Linked DNA regions of Homo sapiens: region 1 is linked to region 2. Evidence: promoter capture Hi-C in 16 types of primary human blood cells and fetal thymus (Javierre and others, 2016). All regions are on one chromosome and are shown on one strand. Each heading gives the region's core, a stretch centred on a gene start or on the middle of the fragment in contact. The rest is flanking DNA. Distances are from core to core; before and after follow the strand shown.

Region 1 (2,760 bases), core at 119-2,618, 260 kb before region 2:
TATTCGCTTTAATAGAAACTTTAGTGAGCTTTTTTTTTTTTTCCCAATGAGCTTTTTTTTCCCCAATGAGCTTTTAAATGAATTGGAAGTTTCTATAAACAATGATTTTAATCTTATAATGTTAGTGCATCTGCTTTGAGATTACTGTTCCCCCAACACACCTATTATGGAGATGTCTCCCTAGGAGTTTCTCTTTTTGACAAATCATATAATATAATAATTTAAACTTTCTGATTCAGCTATAATTTGGGGAAAATATTTTTAAATAGATTCCTTGAATGATCCTGAATGGAAGGATTACTTTACCAGGTTGTTGACATGTAACGCTTAAAAATCAAATTTTCATGATATTATGGAAACCTAAAAATGATATGTGATTGTATACATTATCAGAATCACACTTAACAAGAACCCAAGTGAAAAAGAAACATTAATATTTTTAGCATAAAGTAGAAGCATTCCAACTTGCATTGACTGGAAATAATGGAAGTACTCCAGAATTCTATTAATACATTATATTTCAAAAATATTTATTGTTCAGGAAACTTAGTAAAAGAAAATTGGTAGTCCAAAGAATGTTACAGACTTACCTTTTCCTGGGTAACTGACCTAATTGTAATTACTGAGAATTACTGGTAATACTTTTGGAAGCCCATCAAAATATAGGGAAAAAATTCTCCCTAAGAAATAACTGGCTACGTACTTTCATGAGCGTAAATATTTATACTGTAAAGATATTTGCTAGGCATAAAATAAAATAATATATTTTAAATTGGGAAGAAATATATAGGTAGCTGTGAGAAAATATCAGACATAAAATTGAGTTTACTTGAATTACAAGAATCAAAAGTAAATGTAACTGAATATTATCAAATCATTACCATGTTCTTATTTTTTTAAGCTTTTTTCTCTGCCAGGCACAGTTTCAGGCAACTGTAGTCTCAGCTACTCTGGAGATTGAGGTGGGAGGATTACTGTAGCCCAAGAGTTTGAGTCCAGCCTGGGCAACATAATGAGACCTTAATCTCAATTTTTTTTAAAAAAAAAACACATTTTCTCCATTTTCTCATGCATTTTCTTCAAAATTTATAGTTAATGGATTAAAGAAAAAGCCTTATATACTCAAATATTGATGTCCCAAGAAACATCACAGGAAAAAAATTTATTCCTCAATTAAAATATCTCAATGACAGCAGTATCATAATACCCACTTTTCACACGTGTGTGTGTGTGTGTGTGTGTGTGTGTGTGTGTGTATAAACAATGTCTCCGGGCCGGGTGCAGTGGCTCACGCCTATAATCCCAGCACTTTGGGAGGCCGAGGCGGGCAGATCACGAGGTCAGGAAATCGAGACCATCCTGGCTAACACGGTGAAACCCCGTCTGTACTAAAAATGCAAAAAATTAGCCGGGCGTGGTGGCGGGCGCCTGTAGTCCCAGCTACCCGGGAGGCTGAGGCGGGAGAATGGCCAGAACCCGGAAGGCAGAGCTTGCAGTGAGCCGAGATCATGCCACTGCACTCCAGCCTGGACCACAGAGCGAGACTCCGTCCAAAAAAAAAAAAAGTCTCCCGTAAAAATGGTGAAAATGTTTCAAAAATACATGAAAGCTAATAATGAAGTTACTGGCCCACACAGAAAGGAACAGGAAATATTAAGAGTGGGCAAACAAACCTGAAGCAATAGTAGATATAATATGTTTAAGATTTTCTTGCCAAAATATTGGTTTGAAAATTAAACCTCATCCATTTGTAAATGAAAGACATTCATTGGAACTCACGTGAGTAGGAGCAACAGAGTTAGAGCTTATCTTGTTATTCTCTTCAGTGAAGCTTGCTACCAGAGAAACTTCATTAGAAAGATCTTGTGGGGGGACTGTTTCTGGTGTCATGGTGAGAAAATTAAATCTTCTTTTTCTAGAATCCGAGGGAACATACAGATTGCAGGAATAAAGCAAAGTTCCCTCATTGTAGTTGGGAAAAACCCCTGGTCTAGTCTTAGAACAGAGACCAGGGTGAAAGCAACCCCAGGCAGAGGGGCTGGAAGAGCATCGCAGGTGCAAGGCGACCGCCAAAATCACTGCGAGGAAGAAGAGCATAGAAATCAAGGCCAAGGCCACGACCAGGTAAATCTGCAGCTTTGCTTGGGAATCAGAGGGCACAGGACTGTCACTGAAGTCTGGCAGTGCCTCCTGCAGGCTGTCTGCGAAGACTAGGTGAAGCGTAGCGGCGCAGAGAGCGGCGGCTGTCCTCCGTCACGCACAGCAACCAGCAGGTTCCCGTGTGCAGCCCCAGGCTGAAAAGCCCGGGCTCGATGGCCTGCAGCACGTGGTAGGACAGCCAAGCGTTGTGTCCCGAATCTGCGTCCACCGCCACCACCTTGGTCACCAGGTAGCCGGACTCTGCGGCGCGTGGCACTATATCGAAGAGTGCGGAGCCATCGGGCCCCAGCGCGGGGTACAGCACCCGCGGCACATTGTCATTGAGGTCGCCCACCAACATGCGCCGGCTCATGTTGGCGCTGAGCGCGGGCGAGCCCTGGTCGTGGGCCTGCATCGTGAGCTCGAAGGCGCACAGCTGCTCGTGGTCGAAGGCACGCTGCGCGACCACCACCCCGCTCTGTGCGCTCACGGACACGTAGGACGACAGTGCCCGCAGCTCCAAGTCAGTGGTAACGATGGAGTAGGAGACTTGGCCATTCAGCCCTAGGTCCAGGTCAGAGGCGCTGACTTGTGGGATGGAGGCTCCGGGAAGGTTGTTTT
Region 2 (2,821 bases), core at 314-2,813:
GGTGTAGGAGGTTTGGGTGAAGGCGGGAGCGTTGTCATTGACGTCGGAGACCAGCACGGTTATGTTGTGCTCGGTTTTCAGCCTGGGTGTCCCCAAGTCGGTGACGGTGATGGTGATGTTGTACTCAGTGTTCCTCTCTCGATCCAAAGGTTTCTCTGTTACCAGAGTATAGAAGTTTTCGACAGATGGCTTCAGGATGAAGGGGACATCGTCCTGGATGGAGCACACTGTCTTTCCATTGTTCCCGGAATCTCTGTCTCTAATCCTAAAAACAGCCACGACTGTCTCGGGTGAGTTTTCTGCAATTGGGCTAGTAAGTGAAGACAGGAGCAGCTCGGGTCGATTATCGTTTATATCTGTTACATCAACCACTACAGTGCATTTTCCAGAAAGCCCGCCGCCGTCTTTGGCCTGAATAGTTAATGTGTAAGTTTGAATTGCCTCATAGTCCAATTGCGCTTTAAGATGAAGACTGCCAGATGTTGGATTGATTTGAAACGTTTTGAGAATTCTTTCAGTGGCGTAAGAAAATGCATAGGCTATTTCCCCATTACTTCCGGTATCTAAATCTCTGGCTGACACGGAGACAACCATGGAACCAACGGGGCTATTTTCGGGCACCTGCACCTTGTAGAGCGACCGCACAAAATCAGGGGCGTTGTCATTTACGTCTAGAACCAGAATGCGCACGAGGGCGGTCCCTGATCTTGGAGGAGAGCCGCCGTCTAAAGCGGTGAGGGTTAAACTGAACTCTGGTATCTCTTCCCGATCCAGCACTTGATTCAGCACCAATTCGGGATAGATATTCCCCTCCCCGCTATCATGGACATTAATATGGAAATAGGCATTGGGGCTGATGGTGTAGTTACTCAGGCTGTTGGTTCCAACATCTGAATCCTGTGCACTCTCTAGGAGAAATGCCGCCCCTGGAGTGGTACTTTCTAATATTTTCAAGGAAATCTCTCTGTCTAGAAATACTGGAGCGTGATCATTGATGTCTCTGACCCATAGTTCAGCACGGAAAATCTGAAAAGGTTTTTCCAATAACAACTGGAAAGGCAGCACACAGGGCTCTCTGGGGCCACACAGTTCCTCTCGGTCCAATTTCTCATTTAGAAGTAGATCACCAGTAAGCGAACTGAGCAGTAAAATTTGCATGTTCTGGTCTGAAACAATTCTAGTTCCCCGGGCTCTCAGTTCCCCTACCCCTAACCCTAGGTCTTTTGCCAAGTTGGTAAGAAAGGTGCCTCTCTCGGTTTCCTCCGCCACAAAATACCGAAGCGGTTCGGCGCCAGCCCAAGACATTCCCAGAAATACACAAAGAAATAAGACTTGCCTTTTCTGCACAGCACGCTCCACTCTGGCCTCCATTCTTCTTTGGATCAGTCTTTCAAAATGACTTTCACTCAGCCTCCAGCGGCTCTCACAAATGGCAGCAGCGGAATCCTTTGAAATGAGCTGAATAATAGCAATGTTTGTGGGGAAGGATCCTCATTTTACCCCAATTCCTATTACCACTGTTTCCTTTCCTATGCTTTTCTCTTCAGATTGCCTCTTTGCTCTGGAATCTGTAACATCCTTTCTTTGTGAAATTATTTTTCTCTCTCTCTTTTTAGCCAGCAGCGCCACCTTGCGTTTTGTGGATGTTATTCCCGTTATCAAGACTAGAACAAAAAGATGGCGGATTGAAGGAATTCTGCAACAAGAATGATTTGTCCCCGGTATCTTTGCTGTTTCATTCCATCTTTATCCTCAAATGGTCACAGTAATGCTAGTAAGTAATAGCTGATGTCGTTTTCCCCTGTGATAATCTGGATTCGTAGAAGAATTAATTTATAGTCTTCTTAAATCTAGGAGCATGAAACTAAACTCTGACTCCCCACCGAAATCCTAAGAAAATCTCCTATTTTAAAAATGGATAGTAAAAATATATATGAGAAAATGAAACCTCCTCCTTGAAGTCAACAAATATTGGTTGGGGACATTTTATTTATTTGTAAAGTATTTAACAATAATAATGTGAATATGGCAGAATAATTGACCCTTTTCCCAATTTCTTGTGAATTAAACAATTATTCCACTTTCCAGGTCTTAACTCTTTACCTGTGATATTTCTTGGAACACTTTATGCCTCCCCCAAACCCAACCTTCATCCTTCACCTGATTTAAGTATTACATAAGAAATTATTGTTCCTCTATAATTTCAGTGACTAGAATCTCCAATGTCCAATGAATACTCTTAAAATTAGTAGTAGCAAGTTGGTCAATCTTGCATTTGTGGAAGTGCTTCTAGCATTTCATCTTCAACTATGATGGTTGATCTCAATTTGGGGTAAATATTCCTTTTTTGAATCAATAAAGTTTTCTTTTTATTCTTTCATATTTTGAAGTGATTTTTGATAGCTGTTGAAATAATACATTTATTCTTTAGTTTCTAAATTACTGAGTTATTGATATAAATGACATTTAACCATAATGTATTATTGTTTTAGTGCACAGATAGATATGATGTGTCAACATGGTTTTAGGATTTTTCTAGTTAATGTTGTTTACCTAGTGCGTGTTTGCCTTTTATGGCCTTGGTATTAAACTATTATACTGGCATCATAGAATGTGTTAGGGAGCTTTTTATCTATTTTATACAATAGTTTTAATAATTATATTATTATATGTTTCTACATGCTTAATTCCAGCTTGTCTTTTAAACTGGTTGGGTTTGGTGACTTCACTTGCAGTAGATCAGTGACTACCATTTACATTTTACCTTTGGTTATTAATCTGTTCAGGTTTTGTATTTTTAAGTAACTTGCATTTTATTTTG

What was found. The method cuts DNA at HindIII sites, captures the fragments that hold promoters and counts their contacts. A CHiCAGO score of 5 or more calls a contact.
Region 1: a fragment that was not itself captured here is called in contact with the fragment with the promoter of PCDHB7 in region 2 in 2 of 17 cell types (endothelial precursors and fetal thymus); the score reaches 5.7 in endothelial precursors.

Annotation. Positions count from the first base shown.
Region 1 is chr5:141,427,666-141,430,425 of GRCh38, reverse strand. All of the region lies in intron 1 of PCDHGA1 (protocadherin gamma subfamily A, 1), which reads right to left. The region is part of intron 1 of PCDHGA2 (protocadherin gamma subfamily A, 2); the gene reads right to left. The region is part of intron 1 of PCDHGA3 (protocadherin gamma subfamily A, 3); the gene reads right to left. All of the region lies in intron 1 of PCDHGB1 (protocadherin gamma subfamily B, 1), which reads right to left. It also overlaps PCDHGA4, PCDHGB2, PCDHGA5, PCDHGB3, PCDHGA6 and PCDHGA7, and 10 more genes. Among named protein-coding and RNA genes, the nearest start is that of PCDHGA12, 1.5 kb to the left of the region's middle. RefSeq lists an enhancer at 1-23. The HindIII fragment of the contact is 930 bases long and covers 904-1,833 here.
Region 2 is chr5:141,171,386-141,174,206 of GRCh38, reverse strand. It overlaps PCDHB7 (protocadherin beta 7), which reads right to left and starts at 1,563. Exons shown (of 1, transcript NM_018940.4): 1 at 1-1,563. The coding sequence starts at 1,371. It also overlaps PCDHB@. The HindIII fragment of the contact is 10,030 bases long and covers 1-2,821 here.